2 separate regions of the Homo sapiens genome follow, and region 2 is linked to region 1. The links are contacts of gene promoters, found by promoter capture Hi-C in blood cells and fetal thymus (Javierre and others, 2016). All regions are on one chromosome and are shown on one strand. Each heading gives the region's core, a stretch centred on a gene start or on the middle of the fragment in contact. The rest is flanking DNA. Distances are from core to core; before and after follow the strand shown. Region 1 holds the start of INSL4 (insulin like 4). Region 2 overlaps PLGRKT (plasminogen receptor with a C-terminal lysine).

Evidence for each region. The method cuts DNA at HindIII sites, captures the fragments that hold promoters and counts their contacts. A CHiCAGO score of 5 or more calls a contact.
Region 2: a contact is called between a fragment that was not itself captured here and the fragment with the promoter of INSL4 in region 1, in 7 of 17 cell types (endothelial precursors, megakaryocytes, non-activated CD4 T cells and 4 more). The highest score is 6.7, in endothelial precursors.

Annotation. Positions count from the first base shown.
Region 1 is chr9:5,230,039-5,236,574 of GRCh38, reverse strand. It overlaps INSL4 (insulin like 4), which reads right to left and starts at 5,156. Exons shown (of 2, transcript NM_002195.2): 1 at 4,856-5,156; 2 at 1,271-2,921. The coding sequence starts at 5,051. The coding sequence ends at 2,698. RefSeq lists a promoter at 5,062-5,879. The HindIII fragment of the contact is 5,637 bases long and covers 1-5,527 here.
Region 2 is chr9:5,407,376-5,413,413 of GRCh38, reverse strand. All of the region lies in intron 3 of PLGRKT (plasminogen receptor with a C-terminal lysine), which reads left to right. Among named protein-coding and RNA genes, the nearest start is that of PLGRKT, 28 kb to the left of the region's middle. The HindIII fragment of the contact is 701 bases long and covers 914-1,614 here.

The sequences.
Region 1 (6,536 bases), core at 3,907-6,406:
ATTATCAGAGGAGTGAAATGGTAGCTTATATAAAAAGAGGAAGGGGGACCTAAGCAAGTATGTTAGCATGCTCTGGACTTTTGCTGTGTGATACTCTGCAACACATCAAGACCCAGTAGAGATTTCCCATCAGAAAGAAAGTCTTCATGAGATGCCAGGACAGGCTCTGGCACTTCCTACACTCCTTAATTGTAAGAAATAAATTTATTTTCTTTATAAATTACCCAATTTCAGGTGTTCTGTTATTAGCAACAGAAAATGGACTAAGATAATAATCCTTCAGAATATGCTTATAAAAATAATTGTTGCAGATATAATTAGTTAAGATGAAGTCATCATAGCCTGAGTGGACCTTTAAATCAAAATGTCTAGTGTACTCATAAGAAAACAATGTGCACACAGAAACGGAGAGCACACCATGTATGGACAGTGTGGAGGCTGAAGATTGGCACCTGCAAGCCAAGGAATGCCAAAGATTGACAGCAAACCACCAGAAGCCAGTGAGGATTATACTGTACCTGTTACGGAAAGTGCATCATCTTTCTATGTCTAACCTCCAGAACTGGGAGAAAATGTATTTCAATTGCCTTAAGCCACCAGTTTGTGTACTTTCTTAAAGCAGCTGAAGGACTTCATACATCCTTGGAACCACTCTAGGTGCCTGTCCTGCTGTCACTTTAGGGTGTCATGCAGGTTTATAAGCAGTGGGACAAAGAGTGAGAGATATTTCCATCTCCTAAAAATCCTCCTGGAAGCAGTCTTTGGGTATTTCCTGGTTAAGAGATTGAAATGATAGACACCAGATAAAATTATGGAGCTTTCTCTATTATCCTCTTTTCATACCTCTATTTTTACTAAAAGAATAGAATTATGTATAGAATGCATGTGCCAAGAGAAGGTTCAGAGTCAGTCAAGTAACCAGGTAGAAGCTCCATGAAAGCATAATTATTATTTTTTCTCTCCTGAATCCTAAAGTCCTAGAAAACTGATAGACACATAGAGTAAACTCAATCATTGATCATGAATAACGTAGAGACCCAAAATATTGATATTTTATTGATCGACACTACTGTCAAGAAATACACCTTATGCGCTTCTCCCCTTTGTTCTCAAAGAACAATCTAGAGGAGTCTAGGCAAACCAGGTGGTACAGTTCAGACTGTACAGTATAATCTATGAGTTCTGCCCTATGACTCCCATGATCCCTCTTCATCTTCAATAGAGTATTGGTAGGAAAAAGTTCTTTATGAGAGATGTATCAAGATCATGAGCAGTTCTTCCTTACTCCAGGATGCAGCCTAAACCCCATAGCTGCATTGTGTGGAATCGTTTGAGATCCTCTCTCCTGTCTCCATTCCAACCAGATCTTGACAATTCCTTTTCTCCACACCACCTCCTGCCCTGCTGACTCTGGCTGTTTCCACACATGCTATGCTTCCAGGCCTTTGTGCATTTTCCTGGGCTTCTACTTGTCCCTTTTTGCACTCTCTTCTGCTTAGATGTCTTTCAAGATGCAGATCAGCCATCAGTTTCCTTAGGGAAATTTTGCTCTCTCCTCTTACCTACACTGTTCCCTGTATATTTATTCTTTCACATGTTGGCATTAAACACGACCCTGATTCCTGTGGATCATTACAGTCTCTATGATGACCTACAAGTATCATTGCACTTATTATCCTTTGCTTCTCCATGTCCCACACTAGATTCAGAGCACTTTATGGGCAGGCACAGGGGGCTACTCAAATCATGCCACTTGAATTAAGTTTATAGGACCTGATAATGAGGTAGTAGCAGCTTCAGTTAGCCTGCAAACAAACAAACACAACTAGTAGAACCTCACTGACAGAGTATAAAATGTACTCTTTGATTTAGGATTTAGAGACACATAGGGAGGAGGTATGTGTAGCCAGAGGAATGCCAGTATTTGTGCCAATTCACCACTTTGATGAGGGGATGTGGAGTAATGCCAGGGACAAAAGAGGAGTTTATAGAATGATTGAAGGTCTAAAGGCAGCGTGCTGAGAGGCAGGTGGAGGATATGCATTGGGCAAAGTTCTAGGGAGGTCTCTGGGTTTACCCTAGGGTGAACATGCCTAATACCTCTCCCACCAGTTCATTCCTTCACTGCTTTTCCTCCGTACTATGAGCTGATGTTAGAGATGGTTAGATCCTTTATCTCTTACATTTCTTCTAGTGTGAAAAGAGGAAAAATGAAGAGACTTGAGTGAGTGTGTGTGAACGTATGTGTTTATGTGTGTAAAACTTTAAAAATTTATTTCCAGTAAGTTTGTAGTTCACATATTACAGTTATACACATTTTTGTAGTACATGTGATATTTTGATACGTGTATATAATGTGTAATGATCAAATCAGGGTAATTGGGATATGCATCCAAACTAACATTCATCTTTTTTGTGTTGGAATCATTACAATTCTCTTCTAGCTATTTTGGAATATACAGTGAATTATTGTTAAGTATAATTTCCCCATTGTACTATCAACTACTAGAACTTATTCCATCTATCTAACTTCCTCCATTTGGAGAGACTATATTAGTACAGAGCAAGTGAAACATGTGAATACTAATAATGATTCTCATGTTCTAATAAACAGCAATCATTTAATTGGGCATCAGTGAATTTGTCATTGAGAATACATATGAGAATGGATGAGATGTCCAGTCCATGATTACTCTACTATGTACATAATTTAACTGAAGTTCCATCGTCACAAATTACTTCACAACAGAATGGATCAAATCTGTGACGTCCACTTCTCTTTTTGCGGGAAAGTATTATTTTCTTCAATGATGGCTGCCCTTCAGACAGTGGTTTCTTCAGCTCTGGTGACAAATTAGGAATGAATTCTGATGTCGTACCTAAGGCTTGTCCATCTTTGTTGTTGGAGGTTGACACCATTTCTGTGAAGTAAAAGAGAGGAATGAAAGGTGAGGAAAAACATTCATGTGAAAGAGGATCAGAAAAATTATACAATTTGCCTAGACCACAATGTACCCATTGCCTCCATGTAATTAAACACCAGAGAGAATCAGCAAGTATCCTAACATTTCAACAACTTAGCTTACTTAGAGTAGGGCACTTTAAGATACTACAATATTAAGGATATGCTAACTCCTCATCCTGTCCCCTCTATGCACTCTTCTAATGACCCTCTAAATGCCTATACCATACCACTTTTGACTCTCCCTGACACTGTTTTGATTGATAACCTCAATGCATTATGTACTGGATAGCAATAGGGAATTTTTTTTATAATCACAAGTTATTCTAATAGAAAGATTCAGATATTCAAATCTGATCCACATAAATCTATACATCTATATCAGTGGATCTTAGCTAAAAGGCTGAGAAGCAACATACATCTATATGTGTCGACACCAAATGTTAACATTTGTTATCCATGAATACTTTCCATTTTTCTTGTTAAATTTATCTATATTTGTCAAAGTATTTAAATGAGGATTTTCACTTATTTACTGAAAAAAAGTGAAATTTAAATAGAAATTATAGTACAGCATGCTCTTCCTTAGTTTGCATTAGAAATTGTTTGGACTTTGTGGTATTCTTCCCTTATTTTATAGTAAAATGAAACAAGCTCTGACTAATAATGTAAAAAAAGGAAATAACTTTGAAATCGTTATATAAATCACACAAAATCCAAGTGCATTCACTGTGCACGATAACTTTAAACAGAGTCATTTAATGATTTAATGAAGTGTATGCATATGGGTTACAAGAAGCAGTTCTGGAGTCACACATTGCTGGTTCAAAACCTGTGTCATTTGTATTAAATGTAAAACAATGTTTAGTAATTTAACTTAGCTTTTCAGAACTTAATACGACCTATTAGACAGAATATAGTAGCCTCTATCTCTTTTCGAAACTGCCCCTGCTAGTTTTAACTTAGCTGGCAATTTATCTTTATGAATACCTTGTTACTTGGTAAAGTTTGAAAACTATCCTGGTATTGAACTTTCCTCAATTCTGAAATCTTGCTTTTAAAGAAAATGCTTTGCAGTCTCAAATGTTGAAAACACTAATCAAATCAGCTATGATGGTCTGAACAGTGAAATTCCCTTGTCTCTGGTCCCCTTCAATTTCCCCTCTAGTCATCCAGGCCACTTTCTTTCTCTTCATCTCATCTCTCTCAACACACTACAAGAGTAGATTCAAAGAAATGGGAGGCAAGGTGCTCTGTTGGTGTGCATTAAAAAAAACTTTTTTGTAAGAGGACGTTTTTGGTGACATAGACCACTGCCCAGCTTAATGACAAAGGATGAGAGTTATTAAATCTAAGCCCCCTTTATCTCACATTCCAGGAACCTAACAGAGGTCTCAGTGTGCTGCCCCTAGGCCAATAGGTGCATAAACAGAAATGATAATCAGCTCATCACCTCACTGTTTGTCCCCTTTCTTCTTAATTGAAGATGCCTGGCCCAGGCATCTCATTGCAATCACACCTGTTTTCTGGCCTGCCCAGCTTTCCTGGGGGTCTGGGAGTACACCTCACCTCCTGCTGGTGTTTGAGAATAGTCACCTTCTCTGAGGATTCCCTGTTTTCTCCACCCTGTATCTCTGGCTGCCAGGTGGGAAAGGCACCAAGAGCCTCCAAGGTGAGGCTGTTCTTCTGTTTTTCCTGCAGCTTCTCCTCTACCCCCAACTTCCCATGAGATTTCTGGTGAGACCCTTTTAATAAAAGCACATTACAATGAAAAACCACAAACTTGTAGGCACTAGCCACAGTAGAGTCTGAGTTGACTACAGGCAGTCAATGAGATCTGGAGCCTGTTTTTTCAGGCCTCATTCTGATTGTTTGGTAGTCCAGGGCTCTCACCTTTGGGACGTCCAGATTCCAGCAGCCACCCTCCTGGGGTGGTGGTGAATGTCTTCTCAGGCATGGGGCAATATGACAGCAAGTGTTTTCCAAATCGGGGACCACATCCCCTCAGCTCTGCTGCTAGGCTTTCTCTAAGGAGTTGGCTCAGCAGCAGCCAGATTGCTGGCAGATAGGACCGGAACAGGCTGGCCATCCTGGACCTGAACTCTCCTGTTCTGGGTGTTCTCAGCCTTTCTTTAGAGACTTGCTGCTGTAGCCTACCAGACTGTGCTGGTGTGTCCCTTCTGGGCTCCAGACTGCTTTCTGCATGCCTTCATCAGGCATTTATTTGCTTAGGGCTATTACTCAGCTTTTGCGTCAATGGTGTCAGTTCCACCCCTTTCCCACCCACCTACAAGGAACTTTCTCCCTCAGTTCTTATTTAGTCTCCCTACTTGCCCTACCCACACTCTCATATCCCTCTTTGCTCCCAATGTGCTGCTGCACTTTGCTTGTTTTGAATTTGGTTGTTCTACTTCTTTTTCTTAACTTTCCTCCTGTAATACTATTTTTATGCTTACTAAAATAATGGTAATTTTTAATGTCCTTTGCTTAGATGAAATAAAAATAGAACTGACCTGTAAGCTCATTGGCTAGAAATTATCTTAGTTAACATTTGGCATATAAGCTTTTAATTGCGGGGGTCTGTCCCACAGACCCTGACCCAACGACGGATGAATAACATACACTGACACAGATAGTTTGCCTGTCAGTCCAGCTGAGGGTCCGGGCCACCTACAGACACCAAGGAGGGTGCTGTAAAGAGTTGCAGCCGTGGCCCCGATCAGCCAGCAAAGCTCACATTTATTCAGCATAGATTAAATGACGAAGGTCTTGAGTAAACACCACTAGAAGGTAATTGACATTGCCAACCTCCCGAGTAGAGAGCAATTATGCACCCGCGGTTGATCAAAGATTAGTCTTAGGACCACATGAGTAAACAAACTAGATAAACTACATTCATTTGTATCTGTGCCTTAAGCTATTAACTCAAGGTAAGGATTAGGCTGCCTTCAGCCTGATCTATTACTGGAGCTTATACAAACCCCTCCGGCGTTTCAAAAAGGTTTGCGTCTTTTTCTTATAACTATCTGAAAAAATTTTCCCACCAGCCTGACTGAACTCTCACATCTCCCCCCTTTCTGTTCTTTGCATCGGGTTCTGTTGACTTAAGAGTACAGATGTGTGCAGCAACAGGTTTGTTAGGTTTTGCTTTTATTCCGGCTTTGCATCATAGAATTAGCAAATAACGTAAGACAATCATGAGTATAATTAGTAACATTCCTTTCCAGTCAAAGTGTGACCCCCAGGATCGGGGGTATAACCAGGAGAAATGATCTTGCACACCTTTCCATATGGCTGTTTGTTGAGTATGTAGATCTATCATGTGAAGGGATTCTAAAATTTTAGTTTTAAGTTGCTTTACGTCTGCTGTTAAATTGTCATGAAAGTTTCCCCAGAGGTGTTGTTTCACCTCATCCCAACTATGTATTGATTGATTCCAAGGTAAAAATGTGACACAGATATGTTTATGCTCCCAGTCACAGTTTAATTGCTATCAGAATGCTAGGGCATCTTGTCGCTCCCCCACAAATTCCAAGGCAGCCTCGAGGGCTTGCAGACGTGCAAGAATCTCTTG
Region 2 (6,038 bases), core at 15-2,514, 180 kb before region 1:
GTCAGATCTACAAAGTCCTTTTTTGCCACGTAAGGAGATACATTCACAGGTTCTGAGGATTAGACATGGGCTTCTCTGAGGTCCCATTATTCTGCCCACCCCAGGTACTTAGGTTATTTCCAATATTTTGCTATTACAAACAGTGCTTCAATGAATAACTTTGTTCTTTCATATTTTTATATTGTTAGAGGTGTATCTTCAGGGTAGATTTTTAGAGTTGAGATTGCTGAGTTAAAGGCAAGTACTTGTTAGATATTGCTACGTTTCTCTTCAGAAGGGTTTATCAATTTGAAAGTGGCTATTTTCCCAAAGTCTCACCAACAAAGTATGTTGTCTTGCTTTTTAGTTTTTGCTAGCCTGACAAGCAAGAAGTGGTATCTCAGTCTTGCTTTAATTTGCTTTTCTTTAATTATGAGTGAGTTTGAACATTTTCTCACATTTGAGGGCCATTTATATATCTTGTTTTTTTTGTGAATTTTCTGTTTATTGGTCTCTTGTCTACTGTCCCTCAAGTGTTCTTTGAATATTAGGAGTATTGGCCTCTTGTCTATGGATATATCTTCCTAATATTTTATCTCAGATTGTCACTTGTTTACGGTGGTTTAAAAATTTTTACACCATGAAAAAAAGTTTAGTTTTATGTGGTCAAGTTACCAATATTTTATTTACTCTACATTTTGATTCTTGATGTAGAAAGCTTTTCCCTATACCACAGTTATCCTTGTTTCCTGTGGTACTTTTGTCTTCGTTCATTTTCTGTTGCTATAATCCAATATACAGACTGGGTGATTTATAAAGAATAGAGATTGATTTAGCTCATGGTTCTAGAGGCTGGGAAGTCTCCTTCCTTCTGCATCAGGACATGGCGGGAAGCATCATATGATAAGACAGAGCAAGCAAGCCCAAGAAAGCTTGGTTTTATAACAAAGCCATGATAACAAACCTACTCTCATGATAGGGACATTAATTTATTCATGAGGGCAGAGCCAGCATTTATTCATTCATGAGGATAAAGGATTAAGTTTCCCACACATGAACTTTGGGGGGACACATTCAAACCATAGCAACTTGTATAGCTTCATTTATTGACATTTAGATTCCAAATCCATTTGGGGTTTATTCTCATATATGATATGAGATAGGGATCTAGTTTTATCTTTTTCAGACGGCTACCTTGTGGTACCTATACCACTTATTAAGAAGTCTATCTTTACCCCCAGTGAGTTGAGATACTACCTGTATCACATACTAAGTCTCTGTATGTACTTGCATTTGTTTCTGGACACTCTAATTCACTGGTCAGTTTGTCTAGTCATGTACTAGTATTGTAATGTTTTAATTATAGACACTTTTTAGTATGGTTTAATGCTTGTTGAGGCTACTATACCATTGTAGTTTTTCTTTTTCAATGTTTTCTTGGATAATCTTTCATGTTTGATTTTCCACAGAAATTTTGGTATCAACATGCCCAAGTATAAAATAGTCTGTTGATATTTTTCATTGGGATTGTATTAACTTATAAGTTTATTTGTGAAGAACTATTGAGTCATTTTATTCAAGAATAGGAAATGTTTTTCCATTTGTTTAAGTCTATTTTAATGTCTTCCAGAAGCTTATAAATAAACTGTAGGCTAAACTAAAGAAAAAATGAAATTTTAAGTTAAATTTAAAACTGTAATATCTTGTCAGTAATTGGAAATATATTCTTATAGTTGGATTTCTTACCTAGCCAGCAAGAGGATGTGTTAGCAGTGGCTTAACGTCATGGTATGGCTACTGAGGGCTGTGGATTCATTCTTCTTTGTGTGCACTTGCAGGTTCACAGGCTTTGGAGTCACATATACCTGTGTCCGAACCTGACTCTATCACTTACTGGTTCAGTAACCATGGATAAGTGACACAGGCTCTCTGAGTCTGGCTTCTTCATCTCTAAGATGGGGAGAAGGATACCCAAGAATTGGTTCATGTAGCAGAGTAGATGCTCAATAGTGTTTCCCTCTTTTCTTTTCTTTTCTTTTTTTTTTTTTTTGAAACAGGGTCTTGCTCTGTCTCCCAGGCTGGAGTGCAGTGGCATAACCTTGGCTCGCTGCAACCTCTGCCTCCCAGGTTCAAGTGATTCTCCTGCCTCAGCCTCCTGAGTAGCTGGAATTATAGACGCATGCCACTGTGGCCCGGCTAATTTTTGTATTTTTAGTAGAGACGGGGTTTCACCATATTGGCCAGGCTGATCTCAAACTCCCGACCTCAGGTGGTCCACCTGCCTCGGCCTCCCAAAGTGTTGGGATTACAGGCGTGAGTCACCGCAACTGGCCTGTTTCCATCTTTTCTTGTCTGCTTTCTTTTCTCTTATTTGCTCATGATGACTACTCCATTTTTTCTTTCATCTCTAGTTTCATTATATACATAACCAGAGAGTAAGTTAAGCTAAATATTATCATACAAATACCCATTTTGTTTAGCCATATAACAATTAATATTATATCAAGCTGAAGTAAATAATGCTGATTTATTTCATCTAGAGTGTTGTGTATTGGTCTCAAGGTAAAAGGCTGTGCTTTAAAAAATGGAGACAAAATTTTATTGTTCATTTGTAAACGCTTATTTGATATACTGATGCCATTTCTAATCTTTCTCTGTGGTACAGGCCATAAACCTGTACTAGAAGTGAAACGTTTTAATTTTCTACTGTGGATCTGCCTTATTCCAAGAGCTATGCAACAGACAATAGTGTTAGACAAAGTTTCAGTATGAACAAATTAATTCATTTTTTATAGAGAAGCATAATCTAAAACATAATTTTCCCAACCCTGCCTGCTTAAACTGCTTATTGCCTTAATTATGATTTCAACATGATTTTGGTGACTTCTGTTAATTTCTTTTTCTTTTTTCTTTCTTTTTCCTTTTTTTTTTTTTTTGAGACAGAGTCTTGCTCTGTTACCCAGGCTGATGTGCAGTGGCACGATCTTGGCCCACTGCTCACTGCAACCTCTGCCTCCTGGGTTCAAGTGAGCATGTCAGCTAATTTTTGAACTTTTTTTTAGTATAGATGGGGGTTTCACCATGTTGCCTAGGCTGGTCTTAAACTCCTGACCTCAAGTGATCCACTTGACTCAGCCTCCCAAAGTGCCGGGATTACAGGCATGAGCCACTGTGCCCACCCACTTCTGTTAATTTCTATGTCTTGAGTTTATAGTGAGGTTGATTGCACAGATTGTATAATGTAGTGTAAACTTTTATACTTGAAAATGATCACCTTAAATGCTTATTTCAGTCACAAATAGAAAAATGAATAGGTACAATTAAGGCCAGTAATAGCAATTTTTCTTGCTTTTAAAAATAAAGTTTTAAAGTCAAAATATTATTTTATTATTTTAAAAGCAATCATTTTATCATCTTATATGCTTGGTTTCTAGGGTTTTTAAAGGTAAAAATTTCTCCAGGTCCCACTTCTCCTATGCTTGTTCTTAGATAAGAATTTGAAAAGCCATGCCTTAGAATGTTTCTGGAAAAAAAAGTTAGAATTTCATTATTCCAAGATACATTGGAGGTATTCCAAGATACACTGGGTAAACACTCTCATTCCAAATAGGAGAATTTGGCCAAAATAAAGGGGCTACAGGCCCCATGCATCTAAAACCCAGCAGGGCAGTCATTAAACCTTAAAGCTCCAAACTGATCTTCTTGGACTTCATGTCCCACATCCAGCGCACACTGGTGTGAGGGATGGGCTCCCAAGGCTTTGGGCAGCTCCATCCCTGTGGCTTTGCAAGGTTCAGCCCCCACAACTGCTCTCATGGGCTGGTGTTGAGTGTCTGTGGCTTTTCCAGGAGCAGGGTCTGAGCTGTCAGTGGATCTACCACTCTGGGTATATATATAAAGGGGAGTTTATTAAGTATTAACTCACACGATCACAAGATCCCACAATAGGCCATCTGCAGGCTAAGGAGCAAGGATAGCCAGTCCGAGTTCCAAAATTGAAGAACTCGGAGTCCGATGTTCAAGGTCAGGAAGCATCCAGCACGGGAGAAAGATGTAGGCCAGGAGGCTACGCCAGTCTAACCTTTTCACGTCTTTCTGCCTGCTTTATATTCACTGGCAGCTGATTAGATGGTGCCCATCCAGATTAAGGGTAGATCTGCCTTCCCCAACCCACTGACTTAAATGTTAATCTCCTTTGGCAACACCCTCACAGATATACCCAGGATTAATACTTTGCATCCTTCAATCCAATCAAGTTGACACTCAGTATTAACCATCACAGTGCCCCAGTGGAATCTTTGTGGGGGCTTCAACCCCATATTTCCCCTCTGTACTGCTCTAATAGAGGTTCTCCATGAGGAATCTCCCCCTGCAGCAGGCTTCTGCCTGGACATCCAGACTTTTCCATACATCCTCCAAAATCTAGGAAGAGGCTCCCAAGCCTCAACTCTTATCCGCTGCATACTCACAGGCTTAGCATCACATGGAAGCTGCCAAGACTTACAGCTTGCACCCTCTGAAGCAGTGACCAGAGCTGTATCTGTATCTGAGCTGTATCTGACCTGAAGCTGGAGCTGGAGTGACTGTGATGTGGGGGAACAGTGTCCCAAGGCTGTGCAGGGAAGTGGGGCTCTGGGCCTGGCCCAGGAAACCATTCTGTCCTCTTAGGCCTCTGGGCCTGTGATGGGAGGGGCTGCTGCAAAGGTCTCTGAAATGTCTTCAAGGCCTTTTCTTTATTGTCTTGACTATTAGACTTGGCTCCTCTTTACTTATGCAAATTGATGCAGCCTGCTTGAATTCTTCACCCAGAAATGGGCTTTTCTTTTCTACCACATGGCTATGCTACAAATTTTGTAAACTTTTATGCTCCCTTTTAAATATAAGTTCCAGTTTTAGGTCATTTCTTTGCTTGTGCATATGAGCCTAGGCTGCTAGAAGCAGCCAGTCTACATCTCAAATGTTTTGCTGGTTAGAAATTTCTTCCACCAGATACCGTAAATCATCACTCTCAAGCTCGAAGTTGCGCATATCCCTTGGCAGGGGCACAGTGCAGCCAGGCTCTTTGCTAAAGCTTAAGAGAAGTGACTGCTCCGCTTCCCATAGGTTTTTCATTTCCATCTGAGACCTCATCCACCTGGCCATCTCTGTCCATATCACTATCAGCATTTGGGTCACAACCATTCAGCAAGTCTCTAGGAAGATCCAACTTTCCGTCATCCTTCTGTCTTCCTCTGAGCCCTCCACACTCTTCCAACCTCTGCCCATTTCACAGTTCGAAAGCCACTTTCAGTGTGAACAAGATAATATGATTTTATAGCAAAATATAATCTAAAATAAAACTTTTTTTCTTGCCCCTCCAAATTTAGACCAGTTATTCCCTCAGAGAAAATTTCTACATGTCTTTGGTGGGCTTCTGTTAAATTCCATGTCCTGGACTTACAATAGAGTTGTCTATATACAGATTAGGCAATGAAACACTAAACCTTTGTAGTAGTACTTGAAAATGGCAGCATTAAATGCTAATATCAGTCATACACACACAGACACACACACACATAGTTACAGATGCAATTAAGAGTGGCAATAGCATTTTGCTTTTCTTTTAAAATTATGGTTTTAAGGTCAAATGTTACTATTTTTAAGCCAATTATTTCAAGATCCTATCTAACTTGGTTCCTAGGGTTTTTAGGGTAAAGTCTCCAAATTCTCCACTTCTCCTGTTCTTGAGTTATCACTTTAGGTGTGGATTTGCAAAGCAATGCTTCAGAATTTTTTTTTTTTTGAAAAATTTGTAAGAACAACATTAGAATGCTGTCTAGAGGTGTAATCAGACATGTTTATGTTATGGATAGAACCCCAAATAGAATATTGTAATACTAATTTATTTACTCAACACTTTTTAAAGCCCTGACAATATGCCAGGCCCTGTGCTAGTCAATAAGGTTATAAAGATAAAAACACAAGGTTCAGAAGTTCTATAATAATTAAATGTTCTGAAGTGTTTCAAATTATATCACATAGTGCTTTCCTTGGAAGAAGAACAATTTAGATTATGTTCA